Linked DNA regions of Homo sapiens: all the other regions are linked to region 4. Evidence: promoter capture Hi-C in 16 types of primary human blood cells and fetal thymus (Javierre and others, 2016). All regions are on one chromosome and are shown on one strand. Each heading gives the region's core, a stretch centred on a gene start or on the middle of the fragment in contact. The rest is flanking DNA. Distances are from core to core; before and after follow the strand shown. Region 1 has its middle 6.1 kb from the start of FAM43A. Region 2 holds the start of ATP13A3 (ATPase 13A3). Region 3 overlaps LSG1 (large 60S subunit nuclear export GTPase 1). Region 4 holds the start of XXYLT1 (xyloside xylosyltransferase 1). Region 5 holds the start of TMEM44-AS1 (TMEM44 antisense RNA 1).

Evidence for each region. The method cuts DNA at HindIII sites, captures the fragments that hold promoters and counts their contacts. A CHiCAGO score of 5 or more calls a contact.
Region 1: a fragment that was not itself captured here is called in contact with the fragment with the promoter of XXYLT1 in region 4 in 12 of 17 cell types (activated CD4 T cells, naive CD4 T cells, naive B cells and 9 more); the score reaches 11.1 in activated CD4 T cells.
Region 2: a contact is called between a fragment that was not itself captured here and the fragment with the promoter of XXYLT1 in region 4, in 1 of 17 cell types (neutrophils). The highest score is 5.3, in neutrophils.
Region 3: a contact is called between a fragment that was not itself captured here and the fragment with the promoter of XXYLT1 in region 4, in 4 of 17 cell types (total CD8 T cells, naive CD4 T cells, total B cells and 1 more). The highest score is 7.5, in total CD8 T cells.
Region 5: a contact is called between the fragment with the promoter of TMEM44-AS1 here and the fragment with the promoter of XXYLT1 in region 4, in 1 of 17 cell types (neutrophils). The highest score is 5.2, in neutrophils.

Annotation. Positions count from the first base shown.
Region 1 is chr3:194,690,389-194,693,503 of GRCh38, reverse strand. No RefSeq gene overlaps it. Among named protein-coding and RNA genes, the nearest start is that of FAM43A, 6.1 kb to the right of the region's middle. The HindIII fragment of the contact is 8,231 bases long and covers 1-3,115 here.
Region 2 is chr3:194,484,733-194,487,909 of GRCh38, reverse strand. It overlaps ATP13A3 (ATPase 13A3), which reads left to right and starts at 908. Exons shown (of 34, transcript NM_001367549.1): 1 at 908-1,344; 2 at 2,075-2,116. It overlaps ATP13A3-DT (ATP13A3 divergent transcript), which reads right to left and starts at 770. Exons shown (of 2, transcript NR_033929.1): 1 at 738-770; 2 at 1-454. RefSeq lists an enhancer at 1-108 and silencers at 779-1,438, 1,469-1,518, 1,609-1,668. The HindIII fragment of the contact is 1,515 bases long and covers 525-2,039 here.
Region 3 is chr3:194,648,897-194,652,107 of GRCh38, reverse strand. It overlaps LSG1 (large 60S subunit nuclear export GTPase 1), which reads left to right. Exons shown (of 14, transcript NM_018385.3): 9 at 892-993; 10 at 1,084-1,227. Among named protein-coding and RNA genes, the nearest start is that of TMEM44, 17 kb to the right of the region's middle. The HindIII fragment of the contact is 3,313 bases long and covers 305-3,211 here.
Region 4 is chr3:195,269,754-195,272,622 of GRCh38, reverse strand. XXYLT1 (xyloside xylosyltransferase 1) reads left to right here and starts at 1,464. Exons shown (of 4, transcript NM_152531.5): 1 at 1,464-2,068. The coding sequence starts at 1,565. RefSeq lists silencers at 834-1,063, 1,314-1,843, 2,004-2,183 and an enhancer at 1,434-2,225. The HindIII fragment of the contact is 17,042 bases long and covers 1-2,869 here.
Region 5 is chr3:194,582,437-194,585,517 of GRCh38, reverse strand. TMEM44-AS1 (TMEM44 antisense RNA 1) reads right to left here and starts at 1,250. Exons shown (of 3, transcript NR_047575.1): 1 at 1,070-1,250. RefSeq lists enhancers at 1,234-1,283, 1,319-1,984 and a silencer at 1,474-1,733. The HindIII fragment of the contact is 5,912 bases long and covers 1-3,081 here.

The DNA of each region.
Region 1 (3,115 bases), core at 568-3,067, 580 kb after region 4:
TTTCCTTTAAAGCCTGGGCTATCTTTTCTTTCAGGCAATATAAGATATCAGCTAGGTTTGTGGAAAGGAGAAATTCAGATGGGGAGCTGTGCCATAGGGGAATGAGGTGTGAACTGGAGAAGGAGGAAGGGGTAGAGATGAAGAGGAGGGGAGAAGAGGAGGCCTTCAGAAATGTCACTCCCCATGGAGGGTTAGAAACAAGGTCCTTTTCTGGTACCACTGAGCAGCTCAAGAAAGAGGAAGGAAGGAGTGCCAAGTTCCAGGGCCATCTTCTCACCATTCAAACCACCAAGACGATGGTTAGTCAAGGCGCTCAAACTGGGTCACAAGAGCTTTAGAGCAAGCAGTGGGGGTTTGGTCTAGGGGACACTGGGCCTACGAACAGGGGTGAGCCAGAAGGAACAGAAACGGCCCCGGCTACTGGTCAAGCCAGATCCAGGTGTGGCCGCTGTAGTTTGGATATTTGTTCCCCCAAATCTCTTCTTGAAATTTGATCCCAGTGTTGGAGGTGGGGCCTAATGGGAGGTATTTGGGTCATGGAGGTGGATCCCTTATGAATAGGTTAATGCTCTCCCTGTGGGGAGACGGAGGCAATGAGTGATTTCTCTCTCACTCGAGAGCAGGTTGTCCAAAAGAGCCTGGCACTGCCCTTCTCCCTATCTCTTGCTTCCTTCCTCTTGCCATTTGATTCCTGCTCCAGTTCACCTCCCGCCATGAGTGCAAGCAGCCTGAGGCCTCACCAGAGCAGAAGCTGGCACCACACTTCTTGTACAGCCTGCAGAACCTTGAGCCAAATAAACCTCTTTCCTTTATAAATTACCCAGCCTTGCCAGGCATGGTGGCTCATGCCTGTAATCCCAGCACTTCGGGAGGCCAAGGCGGGTGGATCACTTGAGGTCAGGAGCTCAAGACCAGCCTGACCAACATGGTGAAACCCTGTTTCTACTAAAAAAAAAAAAAAGCACAAAATTAGCCGGGTGAGGTGGAGGGCACCTATATTCCCAGCTACTCGGGAGGCTGAGGCAGGAGAATCGCTTGAACCCGGGAGATGGAGGTTGTGGTGAGCCAAGGTCATGCTATTGCACTCTAGCCTGGGCAACAAGAGTGAAACTCTGTCTCAAAATAAATAAATCAATAAATATAAATAAATTACCCAGCCTCAGGTATTCTTTATAGCAACACGAAACGGACTAAGACAGTGGACATGTGCAACAAGCCTGGAGCAGAGAGTGCAGAGCGCCCTGGGCCTAGCACCCTCCTGGCTGCCTGGAGCCCTGAGTAGTTCCCCATGTGTCAGTCATGGCTCCTACCCCAGCAGTCCGTGCACATTTCTAGCTCTGTCATGCATCACTTAGCAGCAGATGCTGGGACTACTGATGCATACCACACAGAGGAAAGAGTTCTGCTTATTAAATTACTAAATCCTGTTTAAAAAGACGGCAACTTGCTCCTAATAGAATTTCTATGTTTCTCGTGATCCTTGGCAACTACAATGAGATTTTTAAATCTCCAGTATGGTGCCAGGGGTAGATTCTTCCAACCAGTTCTCTCTCTACTCACAAGCAGAACCCTCAAAAACAGCTCTGTCCCCTGGGAGGGAATTGTGCTTTCTTAGTATAACAGAGCCTTTCTAATTTGGTTAAAATCTGTTCTGCTGACTGTGGGGCAGTGAGAGGTGTTTCTTTAGGGAAACCATGTGTGTCCACACACGTGTGTGTGGAGGGGGTTCTCTGAAGCTGTCATAGTTGGGAGGGTATGAAATACTATTGTTTATTTTATGCCATTTTATTCCTCCCACCTTCCTGCTTACATATGCGACAAATGGTAGAAGTGAACATGGGATGTTTGTGCTGTGAGGAGTCGATGAATGCCTCCTCCCAGACTCACGCTGCCACCCCTGGAGGACCGCGTGCCGCCGGGAGTCACCCTGTTTTTCATGCAGTCGATGCTGCATTGTTGAACACGGAGGATTACCTAGGCTGGGAAAGAACGTGGAAAGTGTCTCAGTGCATTTAAAGTACCATCAGGTTAAGTCATGGAGAAACATGAGCCTCACTTTGCAGGAAAGAAAAGCTAAATTTGATGAGTAAACCAGACTTCAGGTGTTTTCTGGAAGGTGTATTTTATCTAATGACTTAGCTTTGCTTTTGTCGCTCCATTCTTTTCCCTCTGAGCTCCAGGAGCAAAGTAGTTTTAGGGTCTTTCTTTTATTTTCATTCAAAACATCTCTTCTTACTCTAGTGATATCATCCCTGGAAGACTGAGAAGTCAGAAGAGGTGAATCACGTGTCACCTTCACATCTCTTCTAGAATTACATCAGTCAGAGCTCTGAGGTGCAGTGGGGATCGATGCCAAAAAGCAGAGGGGAGGAAGGAGAGATGGGGAGGGCACAGACGGAGGAGGAAGGGAGCTGGCTCTTTCCAGCCTGCTTATTTTCTTCTTCCTCCTCCTCAACCTTCAAGCCCCCCTTCCTATTTATAAATCACATGAGAGGAAATATCAGACTTTAAAGAGATGGCTGCTTTATATTTATTGATGGTGTTGGTTTCAACACTATTTGCCTGAACTTTTGGACCAACCACCACATGCCTGTCAGTCACAGATGAAAGCCAACATTGGCATTCTCACAGGACACTTAAACTAGATAAGAATGAAGACACACAGACCCTGCCCTGTCTCCCAAGTATTAGCCATATTATCTTCACTCTGTCTCATCTCTTCATCAGTTTCAAACAGCAGAGGAACTTGGCTATGCATGGGAATAATTTCAAATGTGAAATCTAGTCACGCAGGCTAGTGATGGCCCACACAGCCGTCTGCTTATCAGGTGAGCACACTGGTGTGGAAGGGCTGGGATGGGTGGCTGGGCTGAGACTGGACTTTCCTGACCTCTCTCTAGCTGGGGTTTTTAATGTCATTCAATGATGTGTATCTGAGGTATTCAGGGAGAGGGATCGGGACGCACAACCAAGCCAAAATATAATAGATTCAAAGGCCTGGACGTCCTAAGGCCCTTAAGACTGAATTTTTTTTAAATGTTTTCCACTCAGCTGGGTACAGTGGCTCACGCCTGTAATGCCAGCACTTTGGTAGGCTAAGGTGGGCAGATCACCT
Region 2 (3,177 bases), core at 33-2,532, 780 kb after region 4:
GGACGGGGTCCGCATGCATGCCGTCCTCTTCTCTAAGACGCTAAGGCGGCTGAGTTCTGTAAGTAGCGGCAAGAAGAACAGTCACGGAGCGGGCCGGGCACAAAGGGCGCAGGCCAGGTGGCCCCAGGCGGAAAGATGGCCGCAGCCAGAGGCTGCAGGTGGCCGGGCGCGCTCCCTGCGCGCGTCGCGGAGAGGACGCAGCGAAAATCAAACCCGCGATTTGGAAATCCGGCTGCGGCCCTACCCCGAGATAAGTCTTCTGCGGAGGGAAGTATTTAATTTGCATCCAGGACGGTCGGAAGAGGCGCCTTCCCGTCGGAGGCGAGGCGCGGGCGCGTGGGAGCTTTCTCGTGTGCGCTCCTCCCTGTCCTCCGCCTGCGGCCGGGGCGCAGAGTCCGTGGTCATATGAGAATGACAGTTTTTTGTCTGTTTGTTTTGGCGGGGGCGAGGGTGGCTAAAGGAATGAAAGAGCCTTGCATTAGGAGCTGGGCTCTGGTTTCCTCTCCACCATTCTAGCACAAGCTTCCTCCATGACCATGACTCTGGGCAACGTCTGTCTAGTCACTGAGCCTCAGTTTCCCTGTTCATAAAATGGGAGATTGGACTATGATGTTGTCATAGCCCAAAGGGGATGAAGTGGGATTTGCCGTTCCATTTCATCCCACCAGAAAAGCCGCCCTCCATTAGCCACCCCGGGCTGACACCCAGCGTTTTTGGACGGCCTCGCCTCCCCTTACCTGCCTCTTTCTTTCTTTTGCCCGTTCGAGGGTGGCAAAGGCGATGGGTGGGCGGGGCCTATAAATCGCCCCGCCCCTCCCCGCCCCTTCCCCGCCTCCTGACGTCGCCCGCGCCCCTCCGCCCTCCGCGCGGGGATGAAGCCACCACGTGACCTCACATCCGGCGCGGGAGTCCTGAGCCCGCGCGCGCTCCCCCGCCTGCCTGCCGGCTCTCCCCGCAGCGTGATCGGGCGCCGCCGCGGAGGGGAGGGGGGTTCTCTACGTCGCTGGCGGCGGGGGGGCCGTTTCGGAGTGCAGACCGCCCCCCTCCCCTGCCCACCTCCCGCCGCCCTCCCTTGTTCTCGCCCTGCCGGCTGCACGCCGCCGCCGCGGGCGCGGAGGAGGAGGAGAGCGCGGACGTCCCAGGGCCGGCCCGGCCCCGCCGCGGCGCCTCCTTCCCTCACCCTGAGCCGCAGCGCGCGGCGCCGGCCGAGGGCGATGGGGCTGGGCTGAGGCGAGGCGGCGGCGGCGACAGCGGCGGCCGGGTCCCCCGCGGTCCCTGGGGCTGGTCCGGCCGCGAGGGAGGCCGCGGAGGAGGCGGCGCGGCGGCGGCCAGTGAGCGGCCCCGGTGAGCGGGGCGAGGGGCGGGTGGGCAGCGGCGCCGGGGGAGGTCGAGGAGGCGAATGGTGGTGTCGGGGCGGCGGGTACCGGGCGAGGTCGCGGCCAGCCTTCTCGGGCCGGAGTTGGGCATCGCGGGGACGGGGAGTGTCGGGGGCAGGTGAGGCCAGGGCAGGAGCCCACGCGGTGGGTGCGAAGGCCTGGGGGGGACGCGCCGCCTGCCGGGGGCGAGCGTGGGGGCCGGGCGCTTGGTGGTTGGTAGTCAGAGCTTTCGGAAAGTCCTGTGGGAGGTGGAGGTCCTGTGGGCAGAGGCGTAGGGGTGCTGGCAGGGCCCTCGATGAGTCTGTGCGGGACCCTAGCTCGTCCTCAGCCGTGGAGTATGGAGCTGCTTGCCATCTCCGCATTTCACAGATAAAAGGAGTGAGTCCCGTGGAGGAAAAGTGACTTCTGACTTGCCTGAGGCCTCCCACTCGGACTCTGTGGCAGTGAGGACTAGAAAAACCCAGGGCCCTTTGCCCTAGCAGTGCTCTCGTGGCCACTCTCGCTATGGCCTTTCTGTCTCTCCATTCCCTTCACAGAGTCAGGTTCTGGTGGAAGTATGACCTCTGGCTTTTTTGGGGAGGTGAGGGGTAGGGATGAAGGGGGAGGGAATCGGGTTGGGATTGGCAGGAACTCAGCTGGGGGCTTCCCGGTGTGGAAGAAGCTTTGTGACAGGTGTTTATTGTTTCCTCTTCCCATAGATCTGACAGACATCCCTGAATCTTGGTGTTTGGACATAGGAGGTATGAATCACTCACATAATTAGCCGCTTTTAATCATCAGTGTCTTAGAGCTATATTTAGTGGTTATATTAGTGCAAAATGAATGGGTGTGGAGTCGTACACCTAGAAACAGACTTGTGTTCCTCTATACGATTCTAACTAAATGAGTAGAACATACCTGGGTATGTCATGGCTACTTTAGATCTATGAGGCAGGAAGTTAGAATTTAAGGAATCTAAGAAATGCAGGGACTTGAAAGATTATTGCAAAATAAAGCCTTTAAAAAGTATCGTTGTTAAAATGAAAGTGTTTCGATTTGATTCCTTTGAAGGGTGAGTACGTAATGAACAGTGCTCTATCTTTGGTTAGAGCTCAGCCTCTTTACCAAGGTACATGTATTAATTTTGTTTCACTGGAATATATGTGACATTATTTTCTCTAGAGGTTTGTTGCTTTGCTTAATAGACTACAGTTGCCAAAAATCAATGTGTGTGGGCATCTCATCCTGGTTTGCAACCCCTTTAAGGCAAATCAGTGCTTGGAAGTTGTTCGAAGTAGTAAACCTATTATTAATGATTGTTGTAGAACATAACTTTTGCTGGTATCTTTGATTTGCATTATCCTACCATTAGATCAGGCAGAGAGTGAAATAATTGAGATTTTGAGCCTTGTTAGAACAACAATGCCTGGCTTTGGTCAGGGGATTGGGTAGGAAAAGTGACACTATTTGGTTGCTTTAAATTTTTTTTTTTTTTTTTGAGATGGCATCTTGCTCTGTTGCCCAGGCTGGAGTGCAGTGGTGTGAACTCGGCTCACTGTAACTTCTGCCTCCTGGGTTTCAGCGATTCTCCTGTCGCAGCCTCCTAAGTAGCTGGGATTTCAGGTGTGTGCCACCACGCCCAGCTAATTTTTTGTATTTTTAGTAGAGACAGGGTTTCACCACGTTGGCCAGGCTGGTCGTGAACTACTGACTTCAGGTGATCTTCCTGCCTAGGCCTCCCAAAGTGCTGGTATTACAGGCGCTAGCCACCGAGCTTGGCGGTTGATACTTACATAGTTAGTTTAGGTCACCAAATATACAA
Region 3 (3,211 bases), core at 712-3,211, 620 kb after region 4:
CTATCCAGAATATAACAGTGAGGGAAAGGAGGTCATGGCATGTTTAAAGTCTCCCAGCTTTTCAGTTACATGCTAAGTGTAGCTAATCCTAGTTAGTTTTGAGCCCCCTTCTCTCTGCCCCAACCCCCTGCCCCAAAATGCCTGTTTAAAATGACTACAGTAGATTAGCATCTTATTTTAGTGCAGTAGTTAAAAGAGCTGTCTGTGGAATCAGACAGACCTAGGTGTAATTCCCAATTCAGCAGTAGAACTAACTTGTTAGGAACACGGGGAAAGTTGCTTAATGTCTCTGAGCTTTAAAGCTTCATTCTCTATATTGTTGCTAAAAATTTGTATCAGAAAGTTCAGCTTCTCTACAAGTTTTCTCACATTTATGGAAAAACTGAGCATCCTCCCTCATTTTCTGAATTTCTTACTCTAGAAATTCTGCAGACACTTATTGATCACCTGCCACATGCCAGACATTCCACTTGGCTTTAACTAAAACGTGACTGAAAATTAAAAATAATTGTGTGTTGTGATTATTCAAATGTCCATCCGATCAGCCTCACCCAGTGTGGAAGATGCGATGGAAACCACTGTCTGTAGATGGGGCAGTGAGGGAAGGCTGGGAACAAGGGGATGAAATTTTCTGTAGCATCTGCTGTTAACAGCAAAACATATAATATTAAAATGTGCATAACTTGGCCATTTGTCACTGGAGATGTGTCTGAATAAATATACCCACACCACAGGAGAAAAAAGATGTCTCAACAAACACAGCATGGATTTCAAATAATTTTCTAAAGTAACCAGATGCTTATGCTAGTCTTGCCACCATCTATGTCATATCTTTGAGTCTTTTGATAGATGTACTGTTTTACTGTTTGGTAACTTCTGAGTCTCTTCTAGGTGGGCTACCCTAATGTTGGTAAGAGTTCAACAATCAACACCATCATGGGCAACAAGAAAGTATCTGTGTCTGCCACACCTGGTCACACAAAGCACTTTCAGGTATTTCTGTGGTGCTTTGCCACTTGCATGCAGCTCTTTCTTCCTTTTATCTGTTGTATACCCAGCTCAAACCTCTTGCTTGTCTTCCAGACTCTCTATGTGGAGCCTGGCCTCTGCCTGTGTGACTGTCCTGGCTTGGTGATGCCATCTTTTGTGTCTACCAAGGCAGAAATGACTTGCAGCGGAATCCTCCCAATTGATCAGATGAGAGATCATGTTCCTCCTGTATCACTAATATCCTTTCTGCTTTGGAAACACTCTAGTTATTACGTGCATATTAGGGCTTCAGGTTTATTTTGGGCATTTGAGGGATTCAGATTTGATGAAGAATTGAAAATACTAGTGATCTGCACAAGTTTATACTGTGAGATAGCATGAGAACTTCAGAATAGAACCTCATTTCCTGATTTCAGCAGTGTAGCCTTGAAGAAATGGGAGAATCCAGGTTTCAGATACTCAGTTCCAAGTTGCAAACCTATTTAACAATGCCATGTAACCGTTTGAATGACCTTGGAAAACTTGCTTAACCTTCCCAAATACTTTCCTTTTCTCTAAGTGGGGGAAAATCTATCTCACGGTTGATTATATTTAATCAGTATAGCTAACATATATTGAATACTTGCTATGTGCTTTTCTAAACCCTTACCAAATACCTTTTAGTCCTCAAAAAGCAACGCTTAAGGCAGATACTGCTGTTATTCCCATTTCCTCAAACTTGAGGAAACTGAGGCACAGAGAAGTTAAATAATTTATCTAAGCTCTTATAGCTAGTAAGCAGTAAATTAGGAACTCTGCTACCTCTCAGCAGCATAATGAATTAACTTACATAAAGCATCTAGGACAGTGCCCAGCATGGAAAAAAGACTCAAAGATGGATTTGTTAAGAACTATGCAGGGGCCAGGTGTGGTGGTTCATGCCTGTAACCCCAACACTTTGGGAGGCTGTGGCAGGCGGATCACTTAAGGCCAGGTTTTGAGACCAGCCTGGCCAACATGGCGAAACCCTGTCTCTACTAAAAATACAAAAATTAGCTGGGCGTGGTGGTGCACACCTGTAGTCCCAGCTACTCGGGAGGCTGAGGCACGATAATCTCTTGAACCTGGGAGGCGGAGGTTGCAGTGAGCTGAGATGGTGCCACTGCCCTCCAGCCTGGGCCACAAAGCGAGACTCTTGCCTTTAAGAAAAAAGAAAATGAAAGAAAAAAAAAACTGCAAGGTCTGAGATTTTACTCTACTTATAAGCTAATAAGTTAGTCTATTATTGTTTTGTAGATACTAGCAGAAAATAGGAGACTTCATGAAATTGGCACACTAATCCGCTGGCTTGTAAGTAGAGTAAAATTCCCTTCATAACTACACTTAAGGCCACAGCTTATTCATAGATACATATATATGAAAAAGTGTATAGCTTTTTTTTTTGTTTTTGAGATGGAGTCTCGCTCTGTCACCCAGGCTGGAGTACAGTGGTGCAATCTCTGCTCACTGCAACCTCCACCTCCTGGGTTCAAGCAATTCTCCTGCCTCAGCCTCCCGAGTAGCTGGGATTAACAGGCATGTACCACCATGCCCAGTTAATTTTTTTTTTTTTTTTTTGGTAGAGATGGGGTTTCACCATGTTGGCCAGGCTGGTCTCAAACTCTTGACCTCAGATAATCTGCCTGCCTCGACCTCCCAAAATGCTGGGATTACAGGCGTGAGCCACCACGCCTGGCCTTTTAAGTTTCTCTGTAAATTAATAGTGAGACATGAATCATTTATTGCAGGTAGCCTTAGGTTAGGTGCTGTGGAGGATAGGGCATAAATAGAGATGGCTCCTGCCCTTTACGAAGCATCAGTCTGTTGGGGCACATGAGGCATGTACTTGAATAACTCTAGTACAAGGTAGAATATTGTTAGTGGCTTAAGGAAAATTTGGACAAACTATGGGAGATGAGACAAAGGAGGAAAAGTAATCCTGCCTAACTGTAGGCATTAGAAACAGAGACTCCCCTTGCTTTATCTCTAAATTAGAATCACAAATGCGTAATCTTTTCAGGGTAAAAATGTGTCATCTTTAAAGTCTGTTTCAGATATATTTTAAATTACTATTTTAAATGAATTCATATGGAAAAGTCGTGGGAGCTTAAGGCCTTGTTTAAAAGGGAAAAAACAACTGAGTCTTTTTAGATTAATCAAAAACTATCCTCTTCCTTTGGAGAGGAGAGAGTGTTTGTCACAC
Region 4 (2,869 bases), core at 215-2,714:
TTTAGTAGAGACGGGGTTTCGCCATGTTGGGCAGGCTGGTCTCGAACTCCTGGCCTAAGGTGATCTGCCCTCCTCGGCCTCCCAAAGTGCTAGGATTACAGGCGTGAGCCACCATTCCCGGCCTAAGCCACCATGCTTGGCCTTGCTTTATTCTTATGGTTAAATATTTTGAACATTCTTAAATTATTAGGAAGATTTTCTAGAAATAAAAATGCTGTTTCAATGGTTGAGTATATTTTTGAGACTCATCCAATGTGGTAGGCACCGTGTTAGGTACTGGGTATATTGTGGTTAATAAAAAACAAATGTATATTCTGTTCTCTTGGAGTCACGTGTTCTTGCAATGAAGAAAGATGAGACTAGGGTAGTACATATATTTAGGTGGCCCTCACAGAATTATTGAGGATGGCACTTAGCCCAGACACTGGATAGGAGGTATTTAGAGATCATTTGTGTAGGTAGTGACATGTAAGCCAAGGTCTGAAGCAGAGAGGTTGGATAATCCATGCAACCTTACAATGTGGAAATAACAGGAAAAACCGTTTACCTAATCTCTGGTCAGAAATCAGAGAACTTGGCCAAAGAACTGAAGGGTTACTGTACTTACTCAAGTTCTTTGTCTATTTAGACAGCATGCACAGCACTTGCACGTGTTTACTTAAAAACTACTGGTATAGCCTCAATTCTTAGAAGACTGAAGTTAGTACGTTTTTATCTAGTTAGCAGTGTGCAACTGCCTAGGGTCAAAATTGCTACTGGCTAGCTGTGTGACTTTGGGCACGTGACCTCGGCGTGCAAAACTCCCTGGTACCCTCAAGGAGGCTCTTGATAAAGTGTTAAAAGTCTGTTTATAAAACAAAAGTGGATGAATGTCGCCCTCCAGGGCTTTGCGGTGCTGGGGCTCGGGGAGCAGCCTCGCAGGTTCGTGCGGGCGGCGGGGGCCCCCTGCTGGCCACATCCTCCAGCCTCCCTCCGCTCGGCCTCCGGCGCGACGTGCGGCCCGGGCCATTTCCTCCCAGGGCGGGGGAAAAGGGAGGAGCTGCCGGTTTAAATTGCCTAGCTGCAGCTCGTGTGCAGGGAGAGGCCGAGACGGCTTAAAGCCTCCAAGAAATTGAGGGAAAAAAGGTGCAGAGATTAAAGTTTTACCTCTTGGTGCCTCCAGCTTCGCTTTTGGCTAACCTAAGTTCCTCTGTTCGGGCGCCTCCATTCCCTTCAACACTCAGCTTGGATATCCTCTGGGGCTCGCCGCGTAGGGCGCCATTTCTCAGCCGGGACAGCGGGCCAGCCCTCAGCACGCTGGAGTCCGGAATCCCCCCCTCCCAACGCCGGGCGCCGGATCCCACCCTAACCCCTCCTCTAATACCCTTGGAACCTAGGACCCAGCGGTTTCGGCACGCCCGGCCCCGCCCCTCCGCGCACCGGCGCCCGCGATTGGCTCCAGGCGGCGCGGCCCCGCCCCTTTCATGGCCGCCGCCTGGCGCCGGGGCTAAGTGGCCGCCGGCGTCCGGGTACCCGAGGGCTCTCCCGCGTTGCTGGCACCGCTGGCGCCGCGGTCTCGTAGCGCATGGGCCTCCTCCGAGGCGGGCTCCCATGCGCTCGGGCCATGGCGCGCCTGGGCGCTGTGCGCTCCCACTACTGCGCCCTGCTGCTGGCCGCGGCGCTGGCCGTCTGCGCCTTCTACTACCTCGGCTCAGGCCGGGAGACCTTCTCCAGCGCCACCAAGAGGCTGAAGGAGGCCCGCGCCGGGGCTCCCGCCGCGCCCTCGCCGCCCGCGCTGGAGCTAGCGCGGGGCTCCGTGGCGCCAGCCCCCGGCGCGAAGGCCAAGAGCTTGGAGGGCGGCGGTGCCGGGCCGGTGGACTACCACCTGCTGATGATGTTCACCAAGGCGGAGCACAATGCCGCGCTGCAGGCCAAGGCCCGCGTCGCGCTGCGCTCACTGCTGCGCCTCGCCAAGTTCGAGGCGCACGAGGTGCTTAACCTTCACTTCGTGAGCGAGGAGGCCAGCCGCGAGGTGGCCAAGGGCCTGCTGCGGGAGCTCCTGCCGCCCGCCGCTGGCTTCAAGTGCAAGGTGAGCGGGCCGCGGCTGGGGGCTCCCGGTGGGTGGCCCACCCCATCCTAGGCGAGGTCAGTTTGCGCTCCCGGAGGGGATCCGGGGAACTAGCGGGTAGGATCTTCCCTGAGCTGCCCGCTTGCAATGTAGTGTTCACAACCTGCGGGAGGGCTCGTTCGGGGGCGTGTCCGGGAGCCAGACGCCCTCAGCTGGTGCTGAGGAGTGGAGCTGCGTTTTTAATGACCGCCTCGTTTTCCTCTCCCCCAGTTAAGCGCAGCCCCCAGGAGAGTCCGCGCGCCCCCATTTTGCTAACGTTGCAGGGTTCAGCACTGCCTTCAGAGTCTGCACCTCTGTTTATGTTCCTCAGTTTTTGACTTCTGAGGATGGGACTGGTCACCAGTAGTCATCCTGAGCAACTGGAGAGGGCCTTGGTGAGGCCTCTGGAAGTGTTGAAGTTGCAGTGACACTTCTCATTGCTCTTAAGGTATTTCAGTAGGATCTGGTCAAACTCATTGTGAACCATCTTATCTCCTCTCTGTGTCCCTTTTTCCCCTTCCTCCAAGGGTCATGAACCCATTTAGAGAAGCCTGGAGTTCCTCCGAATGAGGAAGAGAAAGCTCAAGAGGAACAGATATGATCTGGGGAGAGCACAGCTGGCCGCCTTGTCCCAGGCTGGACCAGTCTGCCTCCATGACAGCTTCCATCTCTGTTTATCATCTGTCTTCACTGCCTGGCTCTCCTTGTCTGAGATGTGTTTCTGACATAGTGTGAATTGCCTAGGTCAAATTGCTTATTTGATTTTGACCTAATAGTTGTACA
Region 5 (3,081 bases), core at 1-2,500, 690 kb after region 4:
AATGGCACGATCTCACTTCACTGCAACCTCCGCCTCCCAGGTTCAAGCGATTCTCCTGCCTCAGCCTCCCGAGTAGCTGGGATTACAGGCTCCCGCCACCATGCCTGGCTAATTTTTGTATTTTTAGTAGAGACGCTGTTGGCCAGCCTGATCTGGAACTCCTGACCTCAGGTGATCCACCTGCCTCAGCCTCCCAAAGCGCTGGGATTACACGAATGAGCCACCGCACCCAGCTAAAGATTTTCTTGAAAGCCTGTCTAGATCCTGAAGAACTAATCCCCTTATCTCCCTCCCTCAGTATGATGAAGAGATTTATGAGCATCATTTGAAGACACATTCATATTATGTTTCTTTCAAAGGGGTATGAGCTCCTAGAATAAGAAGAGGCACTGGGCCAAGGAGCATGGCTGGGCTCCAGTTCCCAGGTCTGATTCAGTGTGATCTTTGTCATTTCCTTTTCTATGTCACAGTTTCCTCATCTGTAAACTGAAAGTTGGGCCTGATTTTTTTCATTTTTTCTCTTTTATGCATGTGCCAATTTGTTTCCCACAGAATACTGACATCTTTATAAGCTCTCAAGAAAGACATTATAAAAACAAATTTCAGATATACTTTGAACATAGGCTTCATTATACGACATATACCTCTTTCTGTTTGGATTTTACTGTCCACTTAATATAAAAACCTGTATTAATCACTAAGGAAAAGGATAGAGGAGACTTAGAAATATCTCCAGAATAATTTTGCAACAATTCCAAGATTCTCTGCACTTCTTTTTCTGTCCCTTAATTGGCCTCCTCCACATTTTCCAACTATGGAGGTATTGCTCTACTCTCTTCGACTTTACATTGTTTTAGAATGCTTTTGCAAGGAGACTCTGCCTTGAATGAACCCAAGATATGGTGCAATGTTGAGGAAGATCTCCAAGTTTACACATGCCTGTACGATGGCCCAAAGGTCATCATCAGGTGAAAGGGACGACCTTAGAGATGAAAGAAGTTCAAGGAATGGTGCTACATTAAATGACTTAGCATTAGAAAGCATCTACTTTGCTTTTTCTTTCACCAACCCTGAAAGCCAAATAAGGCACTGGGCATTCAGGCCTTCTTTTGAGCAGAACACGTGATTACGCAGTTATTCTTCAAGAGCCTCTGTTAATCTGTCGCTTGGAGAACTCTGCATACTGTCCCAAATCCGTCTGAATTTTCCATCGGCTGCCAGTGTTCGTAGCAGAGGCCTCGGGTCTTCTCGTCCTCTCCTCAGGGTCTGGCAGCTGTCACTACCGTGGACTTCGGTCCAGTCCCCAGAGTCGGGGGCGCTGCCTTTCCCATTTCAGTTGCCAGGGGGTTCATCCACGATCGTGCCAGAGGGGCAGCGCGTGGTCTCCTCGAACTACGGGGGAGAGAGGAACCACTGTTGGCACGGGCCGGACTGAACGCCGGCTCCCACTGCCTACCTCCTCGGAGCTGCATCCGCCGACATCTTGCGCCCTACTCCCAGCACCAGCAGGGCACTTCCGGGAAGAACGGAATTGCGGTTCCGCGCGTGCGCACTCCGCAGCCACCGCCTCCCGCGAGGAGCGAGAGTCCCGCGGCCCCGCCCCGCCGCCGCAGCCGCCGCCGCAGCCGAAGGCCGGCGTTTCTGACCTCAGCCAGCGGCGACGCAGCCGGGAAAGAACTGTCGAGGGCGTCTCCGTAGTTCAGTTTTGGTTTGTTTATTTGAGACGGAGTCTCTGTCGCCCAGGCTGGAATGCAGTGGCGCGGTCTCTGCTGACTGCAGCCTCCGCCTGCCGAATTCAAGCGATTCTTCTGCGACTGAATAGCTGGGACTACAGGGGCGCGCCACGACGCCCGGCTAATTTTTGTATTTTTAGTGGAGACGGAGTTTCACCATGTTGGTCAGGCTGGTCTCGAACTCCTGACCTCGTGATCCGCCCGCCTCGGCCTCCCAAAGTGCTGGGATTACAGGCGTGAGCCACCACGCCTGGCCCACCCCACTCGGTTTTTAAGGAGATAATTACAAGGTTATTTTACGGTTCATAGTGTGTTTCAGACCTCCCAGAAGCCTAACGGTGTATTATAAACCATTCTTTTCTTTGTTTTTAAATGCATTAAAAACCTTTTTTGAGATAAAAATAGTGCAAGTACATGGTTTAAAAAAAGAAAATCAGATTGCACCAAAAGGTTTATGATGAAAAACAATAATGTTCTGTCCCTTTGCCTCCAAGAGACTCCTTTTTAAAATCTTTTGGGCTGGGCGCGGTGGCTCACGCCTGTAATCCCAACACTTTGGGAGGGTGAGGCGGGCGGATCATCTGAGGTCAGGAGTTTGAGATCAGTCTGGCCAACATGGTGAAACCCCGTCCCTACCAAAAATACAAAAAGTAGCCGGGCGTGGTGGTGGGCGCCTGTAGTCTCAGCTACTTGGGAGGCTGAGGCAGGAGAATCGTTTGAACCGGCGAGGCAGAGGCTGCAGTGAGCTGAGACCGCGCCACTGCACTCCAGCCTAGGCAACAGGAGCAAAATTCTGTCTCAAAAAAAAAAAAAACTTTTATACCTTCTAGTAGTTGTCTCCATTAGGTTTGATTTGGAACATGCTTTCCAGCTACAGGGTTCTTAAGATCATACTTGCTTTTCCTGAGCTGCATCATCTTCAGCTTCCATTATACAGGCTGACGAGGCTCAGTAGCACGGCAGGGCCACTGGCGTATTGAGAAATGGATGGTCACCGTCTTCGCATCCGAGGGTTGTGTGGCGTGCCTCGCGCCAGGAACTCCTTGGCCACTCCGCAGTTTCCTAGCTAGAACCCGGCTTCTGAGCCCAGCACGCTCCAACAGCAGCCTGCCGCGGTCCACGCCTCTGCTCCGGACTTGACCTTTCCCTTCCGGCCTTCCTCCTACAGGTGTCTTGGCACCTGGAATCTCCAGAGGAAATCTGAGGGATTCTCTAAACCCACAGCTGGAACAAGGGACGTCATACACGGCGGCCACCACCATCTTTCCCAAGGACAGCATGGCCATGGATGAAAAGGGCCATTTCATGGGCCTTACCTTCTGCTAGCCAGTATAGCCTAAAGCCCTGA